Linked DNA regions of Homo sapiens: all the other regions are linked to region 2. The links are contacts of gene promoters, found by promoter capture Hi-C in blood cells and fetal thymus (Javierre and others, 2016). All regions are on one chromosome and are shown on one strand. The core of a region is centred on a gene start or on the middle of the fragment in contact, and the rest is flanking DNA. Distances in the headings are between cores, read along the strand shown. Region 1 has its middle 61 kb from the start of DDIAS. Region 2 holds the start of ANKRD42 (ankyrin repeat domain 42). Region 3 overlaps RAB30 (RAB30, member RAS oncogene family). Region 4 overlaps RAB30 (RAB30, member RAS oncogene family).

Region 1 (2,780 bases), core at 104-2,603, 230 kb after region 2:
CATCCAAATAGGAAGAGAGGAAGTCAAACTATCCCTGTTTGCAGATGACATGATTCTAATCTAGAAAACCCCATAGTCTCCACCCAAAAGCTCATTAACTTCAACAAAGTCTCAGGATACAAAATGATGGTGCAAAAACCACTTACATTCTTACATACCAAAAACAGTCAAGCCGAGATCCAAATCAGGAATGCAATCCCATTCACAACTGCCACAAAAATAAAATAAAATAAATACCTAGGAATACAGCTAAACAGGGAGGTGAAAGATCTCTACAAGGAGAACTACAAAACACTGCTCAAAGAAATCAGAGATGGCACAAACAAATGGAAAAACATTCCATGTTCATGGATAGGAAGAATCAATATTGTTAAAATGGCCATACTACCCAAAGCAATTTATAGACTCAAGGCTATTCCTATTAAACTACCACTAACATTCTTCACGAACTAGGAAAAACTATTTCAAAATTCATATGGAATTTAAAAAAGCTCTGATGCCTGTAATCCCAGCTACTTGGGAGGCGGAGGCAGGAGAATCACTTGAACCCAGGAGGCAGAGGTTGCAGAGAGCTGAGATCATGCCATTGCACGCCAGCCTGGTGACAAAGCTGGAAAAAAAAAAAAAGGCCGGGTGCAGTGGCTCATGCCTGTAATCCCAGTACTTTAGGAGGCCAAGGTGGGTGGATCTCTTGAGGTCAGGAGTTTGAGACCAGCCTGGCCAACATTGTGAAACTCCATCTCTACTAAAAATACAAAATAGCCGGGCATGGTGGTGTGCACCTGTAATTCCAGCTACTTGGGAGGCTGAGGCAGGAGAATCACTTGAACCCAGGAGGCAGAGGTTGTAGTGAGCTAAGATCACGCCACTGCATTCCAGTCTGGGTGACAGAGTGAGACTGTCTCAAGAAAAAAAAAAAAAGAGAGAGAGAGAGCTTGAATAGCCAAGGCAATACTAAGCAAAAAGAACAAAGCTGGAAGCATCATGCTATTAATAACTGACTTCAAACTAAACTATAGGGCTACAGTAATCAAAACAGCATGGTGCTGGTACAAGAAACAGACACATAAACCAATGAAACAGAATAGAAAACCCAGAAGTAAGGCTGCTCACCTACAAATATCTGATCTTTGACAAAGCTAACAAAAACAAGCACTGGGGAAAGGATTCCCTATTGAATAAGTGGTGCTGGATAACTGGCCAGCTATATGCAGATGATTGAAACTGGACCCCTTCCTTATACCATGTACAAAAATTAACTCAAGATGGATTAAAGAATTAAATGTAAAACCAAAAACTATAAAAACCCTGGAAGACAATGTAAGCAATACCTTTCTGAACGTAGGAATGAGCAAAGATCTCATGGTGAAAACACCAAAAACAATTGCAACAAAAGCAAAATTGACAAATGGGATCTAATTAAACTAAAGAGCTTCTGCACAGCAAAGGAAACTATCAACAGTGCACAGACAACCTACTGAGTGGGAGAAAATTTTTGCAAACTATGTATCCGACAAAGGCCTAATATTCAGCATCTATGAGGAACTTAAGCAAATTCACAAGAAAAAGACAACCCCATGAAAAAGTGGGCAAAGGACATGACCAGACATATTCCAAAAGAAGACATACATGTGGCCAACGATCATATGAAAAAAGCTCATCACCACTGATCATTAGAGAAATGCAAATCAAAACCACAATGAGATACCATCTTACACCAGTCAGAATGGCAATTAAAAAGTCAAAAAATAACAGATGCTGGTGAGGGTGCAGAGAAAAGGAACACTTATACACTGTTGGGAGTGTAAATTAGTTCAATGATTGTGGAAAATAGTGTGGCAAGTCCTCAAATATCTGAAGACAGAAATACTATTCAACTCAGCAATCCCATTAGTGGGTATACACCCAAAGGAATATAAATCATTCTATTATGAAGACACAGGCATATGTTCATTGCAACACTATTCACAATACCAAAGACATGGAATCAACCTAAATGCCCATCAATGATAGACTGCATAAAGAAAATGTGGTATATGTATACCAAGGAATACTATGCAGCCATAAAAAAGAATGAGCTCAACTAGCTGGGCATGGTGGTATGTGCCTGTAGTTTCAGCTATTTGGGAGGCTGAGGTGGGAGGATGACTTGAATCCAGGAGACAGAGGTTGCAGTGAGCTGAGATTGCACCACTATACTCCATCCTGGGTGACAGAGCCAGACCCTGTCTTAAAATAAAAAAGAATGAGATTGTGTCATGTCCTTTGCAGGAACATGGATGGAGCTGGAGGCCATTATCCTTAACAAACTAATGCAGGAACAGAAAACCAAATATGGCATGTTCCCACTTATAAGTGGGAGCTAAGTGATAAGAACACATGGACACACAGAGGGGAACAACACACACTGTGGCCTATTGGGGGGTGGAAGGTGGGAGGAGGGAGAGGATCAGGAAAAATAACTAATGGGTACTATGCTTAATACCTGGGTGACAAAATAATCTGTACAAAAACCCCCCATGACACAAGTTTACCTATGTAAAGAACCTGCACAAGTACCCCTGAACTTAAAATAAAAGTTAAATAAATTAAAAAAACAAAAAATACAGGGTAAATGCCATAGTGTCTGGTACATAATAGGCATACAGTAAATGATGAGTAATATTACATGTATAAAATAAAACGTTAATTATCTAGCAGGCCATTGAGAGATGGTGTCTAGTTAATTAGGCTGAATGGCTACTCAGTTACAGGTTTAATATTAGAGTCACCATATCCAC
Region 2 (2,728 bases), core at 219-2,718:
AAAGAGAACCAATGATGGCATCATCAAGGGGTAAAAGCTGCATTTAAGAAGATGGCAGAAGAAAAGAAAACGGTAAGGGAAAGGGTCACTCAATGGAGTGAAAGAAGAAAACTAAGTAAGTACTAATTTGTCACCTCCACAGGGTCAAATGCTGCAGGGAAGTCAAGGAAGAACTTAAAAGGGTCCGTCCATTAAGACTGAACAAGAGTTGATGTCAAGCTGGGCAAGAAGACTCGGAGGAATAGTGTGGATGGAAAAAAGGAAAGAAAGCGGAAATAATACAGAACAGGGGAGAGCTGAACAGCTTTGGTATCCCCTGAAAATAAATTAAAAAGGGAAAGGGGGGAGTGACGGCTGAGAAAAGGAAATGCCAGAAAGGGCTAAGGCTGTTGCGGGCTTAAGTGAGAAAAGGAATACGACAGAGATGAAGGCCAATGACAGTCTGACTCACAGGGGTTTGCAGTCTCCCTAGAGGAAGTGGAGGGGCCTGAATTGGCCACCCCGGGCATGGCGCAACACCTCCGACTCTGGGGAGGAGTTGAGTCCAGGCCCCTGATGCTGCGGCGGTCTTCACTTGCTCTCACCCACGAGCCACTGCAGCGGCAGCGGCCCTCTTCTCCGTCGTCACTAGGACGGGGCCCAAGGTCCTCTCTTGCTCTCTCCCAGAAGCTGCAGCGGAAACCTTCGTCTTCACTTTCTCTCTCCCAAAAGCCACTGAAGCGGTAGCTGGCGTCTTCACTGCCGCTCACACCAGAGGAGTCGCTGGCTGCGTAGCCGCGGTCTCCACTTACTTCCTCCCAAGAACTACCAACGCTGTGGCCGCCTTCGACACTCCCTCCCTCCCAGGAGCCACTGAAGCGGCGACTGCGATCGTCACTGACTCTATCCCCGAAGTCACTAGTTCGCGGGTCCCGAATGTCACTGACTCCCTCCCAAGGACCACTGAGGCGGAGGCCTCGGTCTTCTCTGGCTGTTCCCCTGGAGTCGGTAGTTTGGTGGCCTCCAACTTCACTAAAATTCACGTCGCTGCTGCAGAAGGTGCTGTCTCCCCTAACTCTCTCCCAAGAGCAGCTGTGACTGTGGCCACTATCTCCCCTAACTCTCTCCCTAGAGACGCTGCGGCAGTGGCCGAGGTTTTCACTGACCCTTCTCAAGTCACTGCGGGAGAAGCCGGCGTCTGCACTTAGGCTTCCTGCAGCGACCCTGGAGCGGCGGTCGCTCTCTTCACATTTTCTTTCCCCGTCGTCGCTAACTCTTTCCCTAGACTCGGCGCCGGAATGGCCGTGTAGACCGTTTATCCTCCACACGTGGTGGCTAGTGCGGCGGCCACCGTCTTCGTCTGCTACTCCCTGCGAATCGCCGTAGCGGCGGCCGCCTTCCGCTGGTACTTTCTCGGAGTCTCTTTCCAGCCTCCCGACTCCAGCCACTTGGCTGGAGAGGCAGCAGGGCCGTCGCCTTGGAAACGAGTACACTTCCGACGTGCTGAGGTCATTTCCCGTTCCTCACGGCCCACGCTACTTCCGGTTTCCTTTCCCTCAGCTATTCCATGGCTTTTCGTGTGGACAAATCGGGAGGTGGTGTAAACTGGTTTTTGGTGAAATTCGGCTCGGCCTCATGCGAACCTATCTAGGTCCGTCTCTGGAGTGGCCTGTCATCGATCGCGCCCTCCATCGCTGAGCGACACAAGTGGAACCCCCCAGGACTGCATTCTGCGTAGGTGACCTGTGTGGCGCGGGCCGGGCGGGGCCTTTTTGTCCTTGGGCAAACGTGGTATACTTTCTCAGTGGTGGTTGGAAGGAAATTTGTTGCCCTGTCATTTCGCAAGTATGGAAAAAGACCTAAAGGAGAATTTAGCAGCTGCAGCCGCTGTTTTTATTGCGTACTTTACTAGCGCCAACTCTTTAATAATCGCTTGTTAGTTGTTACCCCTGTTTTATGGGTCAAGAGACTCAATATATCAGTACTTTGGTAAGGCCAGGCAGCAGGTAAGTTGTAAAACCAGTAAAAAAACACAGGTCATTAGTCAAAAGAGTGCTTCAGGTCTCCTGACTCCAAATCCGAGAATCCTTTCACTGTAGCATGTTTACTGCTCAAATATTTCTACAACCCTATTGCTTAACAACAGGAATGAATTATTTCACCATTTGTTGCAAACGTATGGGTCACGTTTTGTGCCAGCAGCAGAAAATACAGAAATTAGTAAGAATTACCTGCCCTCCAGGGGCATCACCAACCTGGATTCCCCTCTCGGCCCAGTTTTTCCACCCTTATTGCCTTCTCCCTTCAGGAATAATGAACTCGTCCTGGAAGCGTACCTTACTTTTTAATATCTCTGCCTTGTCATGTGCTGTTCGTCTTACCAGGAAACTACCCTGCTTTTCCCCCAGTTTTGGTCTGTGAACACATTTGGGAAATTCTTCTGATCCTACCGCTACTCTCTTGAGGTACAGTAAATTGTCTTTGACTTCCATCACCTTTTGTAATATTACAATTGCCATCTACTGAGTTCCTATGATCTGCCTGGCATTGTACTAAGTGCTTTATATTTTCTTGTTCATTTTTTTATGCCAACATAAATGAGTTTGACTCAATTCTTATTATAACCTGCCAAAATAAGTATTCCTCTTCCTTTTTACAGAGAGAGAAACAAGGGAAAAAAAAGTTAATTGCCTGAGGATATACTGCTAGTGTTGCGGGACAAATAGAGACGGGAGAGGCCAAACAGAAT
Region 3 (2,864 bases), core at 223-2,722, 180 kb after region 2:
GCAGGTAAAGTGGATAGGTCTGTGTCTAGCACATTGTTTTTATAGAAACTATTATTTTCTAAGTATCTGGCTTATTGTAGACATGCAATAAAGGTTAGTTCTCTTTCTTTATTTCTTGCAGTCTGGATCTCCTGCAGTATTTTATATTTAATTGACCTGCACTTTGGGTCCTCCAACGCACACAGAGACACTGCATTGTAGCAAGGTTTGACTTTCTCTTGGGAAATTATAGTTTTCTTCTCTTTGGTTATATGATCTTTGCCAATTAACTCTCCTTAAGATCAAATTGCTTTGGGGTTTGATTTCCTCATCATAGTGTTTAGTTTCTCTGAAAAGCACTCTCAGCTTTTGTGTGTACTGATCAGTTTTTCTTTTGCATTTATTTAATATTTAGTCTACTGAAATGTCAGGCGATGAGAATACAGATAGGAATTTGCAGGAGCCTCTGTCCTTAAGGCCTAGTGGAGGAAACAGGATACATAAACCAACAAGAATAATAAAGTGTCTGGCCAGGCGCAGTGGCTTATGCCTGTAATCCCAGCACTTTGGGAGGCCGAGGCAGGTGAATCACTTGAGGTCAGGAGTTTGAGACCAGCCTGGCCAACGTGGTGAAACCCCTGTCTCTACTAAAAATACAAAAATTAGCCAGGCATGGTAGTGCATGCCTATAATTCCAACTACTAGGGAAGCTGAGGCAGGAGAATTTATTGAACCCAGGAGGCGGAGGTTGCAGTGACCCGAAATCACACCATTGCACTCCAGCCTGGGGAACAGAGTGAGACTCTGTCTCAAAATAATAAAAATAAAAATGAAAATAAATTTTAAAAAAAAGTGTCTATGGAGAAACTCTGCAGAACATAGAGGAGGCACAAAGTAGAGAGTGACCAATTCACAGGGAGGGTGGGGGTATGGTTTGAGAGATAATTGGTTGTTTACCACCCAATAAAGAGAGATGAGCCCTGTGAGTAAAGGTGTGAAGGGATGAACCTGTCTAGGGGCCCATGCTCTGGGAACTTGGCAAGACTGCGTGATCATAGCGGTAGTCATAGTGGTAACAGGTCATGAGAAGCAAAGCCTGAAAGATACGAGGTGCTGGGCTGTGGAGGGCTCTGCATGCCCTGCTGGAGAATTTGAACTTTCGCCCAACAATAACAATAACAGTAGCAGCACCTAACATTTACTGAGCACTTCCTCTTTGCCAGGCCCTCTTCTTTGTACTTTATTGTATTAATTCCTTTAATCTGCACAACGGTCCTATGGGGTAAGTACTGTTATTATCCCTATTTGTAAATAAATACACATAGGATAGGTATTGAATTTGTTCTTAAAAATAATAATAAATAAATAAATGTAGGCACCAAGAGGACAAGGAACTTGCCCAGGGTCACCCAACTCATAAAGAGCATTCAGAGCATTCAGAAAGAGCAGTCTGAGGATTCAGACTCAGGCAGTGTGGCTCCAAAGTTTGCCCTCTTAACCAGGGCACTGTACTACTTCTTACAGACAACTTTGTGGGGGCAGCCAGAGCCCTGGAAGAGTTTTAAGTGTGGGAATGACATGATTAGATTAGTTCTTTGGAGAGGCTGCAGTGGAGTCGCATTGCATCTTGTACAAGTGTTCATTTCTAAAAGCATTGGAGGCAAAAAATGCCAAGTTCCATTTCTTCTTGCCTCTGAGTGAGGTTTGCTATGCTAGTGGTGGCGTACCACATCTTAGGCAGTCCAACACAGCAGCTTTTTTCCTCTATCCTTAGAACAGAGGACAGAGTCTTTGGAAGACATGCATATAATAGATGAATCATCAGTTTGTGTTGAGGGACTCTTTTGTTTGAAAAGCACAAAAGTATCACACTCCTGCAGAAACTGAGCCCCTCAGTGGTGACAACAGACTCAGCCTCCCCTCATTTAGTGCATATCCAAGCCTGTGCGTTGCTTAGATAGTGTTTTTCCCTGCCCTTGTTTCTCTCTCTAGAGAAGTCCATAGTGATATGGGTGCACATTAGGCCTGTGATGGTCTGCATTGCATTTGGCAGCAGAATGGAAGAAGGACAGCCTGCAAGTGGGGAGGCAGGAAGAAGGCAGGGAAAACAAGCAGAACACAGCAGCTGCTGCCCAGCTACCAGAGTCTGGCCTTGGTGAAGGGCAGGGCAGGAGGCCAGGAGAGTAAGGGTATGAGAAATGTAAAGAAAGTTAAATATTCTGGACCTAATGACCAATTGAATTGGTTTCCTTCAACTTTCTTCTGATCTGAAAACTTAGTACATCATTGTATCTTCTTGTTTTCAGTCTGTTAAATGCCTTTCTAATTCCAACTACATTATTCAGTCTTCCAGCTTTAATACACAGTACTCGCCATGTTCTTGGCTTATGGCTACTGAAATAGACCTAAGAGTCATCTACAGGTGTTAGGAACCTTGATTGGTCCATTTATTTTGTCATAGTGGTACAATATTCTCTTTTTTACTTACAAACTGACATTATGTGGGGTCTCTTGATAGCCACCATTATGTTATAGTACAAGATTTATATTAAGTTCTCTGGTTTCTCAAAATTGAAATGATTTTGTAACTGCTTTAAAGAAATGTTGATGCGATTACAACAACGATCAAAACAAAACCAAACCAGCCAGTACATGGGAAAAAGAAACTAGGAGAAACACATCAAAATGTTGACAGTGATTGCATTTGTATTGGCAATTTTATTTTTCCCTTTTCTGTGTTTCCAAAGTTCTGAAAATGTGTCTATGGTACATACAAAATGTTAACAACTTGTTTTTTAAAAAATAACAAACTTCAAAAATAAAAGGTCTCTGTAATCTCATAATTCTAGCATAACACATTTTTACTTTTGAAATGCCCTTGTTGA
Region 4 (3,034 bases), core at 414-2,913, 210 kb after region 2:
TAGTATGAGCAGAGGGTGACAGCAATGGATTCATCCTCTTTGGATACAGATGCACATTTTAGTTAGTCTTTGGTGGCAACAGCAGCATGGGAGCATGGAATGAGTCCTCAACTGGAAATAGAAGGCCTGGATGCCATGTCCTAGCTTTGTGAATAACCAGTTAGTTAAGGGACAGTTTCCATTAATACGGGGAGGTGTACACTTGCCTACCTCACTGGATTGTTGTAAAGATTAAATGAGACCATCAGTAAATATTTGAGCACCTCCTATTTGCCAAGTGCTCTATTTGCTCTAAATGGACCCTGACGTCTCCCTCATGAAGCTTTCAGTTTAGTGGGAAAGATGGCTATTAAACAAATTATTACAAATAAATGATTCAGGCATGTCAGGTGCCATGAGGGAGAATGACAGGATGTATCGCAAGAGAGACTGTGTGGGGTGGGGGGGTGGGGAACCTAGCCTAATCTGAAGGTTCTGGAAAGCCTTCCTGAGGAAGCAATCTTATGTCCCTGGACATGAATACACCTGTGACCTGTGAAATTCGTGCAATTAGAAGGAAAGATTATTGTTTTTGTTGATGTTCTTATTTCTCAAGGCCTTGTGTTTTGTTCTACACTTAGCAGCCACCCTGGAGAATAATTCGTTTTCAGTAGTTGTCTACTCTGTGCAGGGAAATTGACAAGTATTGTCTTCTTCTTTGTTATTAGAATTATTAGTTATTAGGACTTAGAACTGGTAGATAACTGCAGAAAAAGTGAACCTTCAGCAGGTTGTGTGTTATTAACCACTTTTTATAAAGAAATAATCAAAGCCCAAAGAGATTAAGTGACTTGGCCAAGGTCATAGAACTTAAGAGACCTGAAGGAAAATTATATTGTTGTCTGCCATGGCATGATTCCTGTTTTCTTTAACAAAGATAATACCTTAATACATCCATTTGAATTTTGAACTGGAAAAGTGGTGAGGTTGGCTCTCCCTCCAGTTGCTGATTAAATGCCAACAGTCACAGCTTGCCCTGTATCATGCCTTTTGTAATATGGCATTGTGAGTAAGAACGGGGACTCTGGGACCACAATGCCTGGTTGAATTGGTTCTGGGACATATTGGCTATGAGATGCTGAACAAGTTAATTAATCTTACTGTGCCTCAGTTTATTCATGCAAGAAATGGGTATTATGATAGTATCTACCTCATAGGGTTACTGTGAGGAATAAGTGAGTTGCCACAGGTAAAATGCTTAGAATAGAGCTTGGCACATAATAAATGCTTGACGAATTTCCTATATGTATTTTTTTAAGAATGAAAAGGAAACTCTTAACAAAGAAAAAACAAAACAAAACAAAATAAGCCCCTCTCCCTAACCAGAAACACACCCAACAGATTTTTTTTTTTTTAATTTTCAGTGCTTTTTTTTTTTTTTTTTTTTTTTTTTTTAGGGCAGAAAATAACCATGAAATTGTTTGGGTAAAGGTGTACCCATTTTCAAACCAAAGCAAGGCAAAGCTTTTTTTTTCTTTTTTTCTCCAACCTGATCCTTCTTCACCTGATTCTTATCTTATGCCTTTACAGCTACAGATCTGGGACACAGCAGGTCAAGAGAGATTTCGGTCCATTACCCAGAGTTACTACCGAAGCGCCAATGCCTTGATCCTCACCTATGACATTACCTGTGAGGAATCCTTCCGTTGCCTTCCTGAGTGGCTGCGGGAGATAGAACAATATGCCAGCAACAAGGTCATCACTGTGTTAGTGGGTAAGTAAGGGCTAACGAGGAGGGAAATTGATTTGTGGGCATTAGAGGATTTATAATCACATAAAGCTTATACATTGGTGCCTTCCAAGAATATAGTCTTTAGCTAATAATTCATGCAGTCAACCTTCAGTTCTTCTGCAATTGAAGAGAAAATGAAATAGGTCCTATCCCATGGTGACAGTTTAGAAAAATAAAGTAGAAAACATTTTCTATCAATGTAGGCTCTAGGGAAGAAGTTGGATGGCCATGAAAGTTATGTGAGCTGCTAAAAATTTAAAAAGTCTAATTACAAGATGAAAGGAATGGCTGTTCTAGAAGAAAAATGTATCTTTTAAGTTGATATGGAATTCATTATTGAAGCAATTGTTTATTGCCTAAAAGGTGGATTTTGGTAATTTTTTTTCCCTTCCTAACATTTAGGCTGATTTGAGAAATTCTGTGTTTCAGAAAGAATCTGCTAAGGGCAATGCTGTAGTTTGTTTCATCTTGTAGGAGAATAAAACCTCTATTTAGTATGGGGGGAAAGCACAAAACAACCCTTGATTTTCTATCATGACTGATATATGCATTGAAATGGACCAGGTCATTAAAAACTTCTCTGTTTGTAGTGGAAAAGTGTTAGTAACCATTTGATCATTAACATATTTTCTTCCTAGAAAGGAACGTTCCTATATAGTCTAGCAATACCTGAATTAGGGAAATTTGAGTAGAGATCCTTAGAAGCATTGTTAAGTTACAAATTATGGTTAATAATAAGCTCAGTAAACACTTTAGAATAGTGTTATAATTGGTATATATGTGCCAGGAATGATACGAGGAACTTTATGTGTCATGATCCCTGATTTACAGATCAGGAAACCACGGCTCAAAGAGGTGAAGTTCTTTTCCCAAGGTCACATAGCATGTAAGATCAACTCCAAGCCCTGTAGTTGTCCAGCTGTAATATGTTACGTTGTAACAAATTGCTGGACTTTTCCTTCAGGCTGCTGGATGAAGCATCTGTGTTTCTATGAGCTAGTGCTCCCTGTAAAACCCTTTTGGACAATGTTGAACCTTTGCCATAAAGCATTTGAGAGGTCTGCATTTGTACCTTCTGTTTTACAGAAAGCCTTTGGGAACTTGAGTCAAAGCATTACTACTTGGGATTTTATCTAAGGAAGGTAAATGAAGATTTGAGGGGAGACAGTTAGTTCAATATGAAAGAGGAATTGGCTTAAAACACAATTTTACTATGGAAAATTTCAGACATAAACAAGAGTAGAGAAACAGTATAGTGAATCC

Evidence for each region. The method cuts DNA at HindIII sites, captures the fragments that hold promoters and counts their contacts. A CHiCAGO score of 5 or more calls a contact.
Region 1: a fragment that was not itself captured here is called in contact with the fragment with the promoter of ANKRD42 in region 2 in 7 of 17 cell types (total CD8 T cells, activated CD4 T cells, total CD4 T cells and 4 more); the score reaches 11.0 in total CD8 T cells.
Region 3: a fragment that was not itself captured here is called in contact with the fragment with the promoter of ANKRD42 in region 2 in 2 of 17 cell types (total CD4 T cells and naive B cells); the score reaches 6.0 in total CD4 T cells.
Region 4: a fragment that was not itself captured here is called in contact with the fragment with the promoter of ANKRD42 in region 2 in 2 of 17 cell types (total B cells and naive B cells); the score reaches 7.8 in total B cells.

What each region holds. Positions count from the first base shown.
Region 1 is chr11:82,961,495-82,964,274 of GRCh38, reverse strand. No RefSeq gene overlaps it. Among named protein-coding and RNA genes, the nearest start is that of DDIAS, 61 kb to the right of the region's middle. The HindIII fragment of the contact is 3,352 bases long and covers 1-2,780 here.
Region 2 is chr11:83,192,452-83,195,179 of GRCh38, reverse strand. It overlaps ANKRD42 (ankyrin repeat domain 42), which reads right to left and starts at 1,468. Exons shown (of 11, transcript NM_001300975.2): 1 at 452-1,468. The coding sequence starts at 509. ANKRD42-DT (ANKRD42 divergent transcript) reads left to right here and starts at 1,511. Exons shown (of 3, transcript NR_149009.1): 1 at 1,511-1,713. RefSeq lists enhancers at 492-851, 1,372-1,481, 1,542-1,761 and a silencer at 1,059-1,237. The HindIII fragment of the contact is 14,061 bases long and covers 1-2,728 here.
Region 3 is chr11:83,011,028-83,013,891 of GRCh38, reverse strand. The region is part of intron 1 of RAB30 (RAB30, member RAS oncogene family); the gene reads left to right. Among named protein-coding and RNA genes, the nearest start is that of SNORA70E, 29 kb to the left of the region's middle. The HindIII fragment of the contact is 8,703 bases long and covers 1-2,864 here.
Region 4 is chr11:82,986,306-82,989,339 of GRCh38, reverse strand. RAB30 (RAB30, member RAS oncogene family) reads left to right here. Exons shown (of 5, transcript NM_001286060.2): 4 at 1,570-1,753. Among named protein-coding and RNA genes, the nearest start is that of SNORA70E, 54 kb to the left of the region's middle. The HindIII fragment of the contact is 316 bases long and covers 1,506-1,821 here.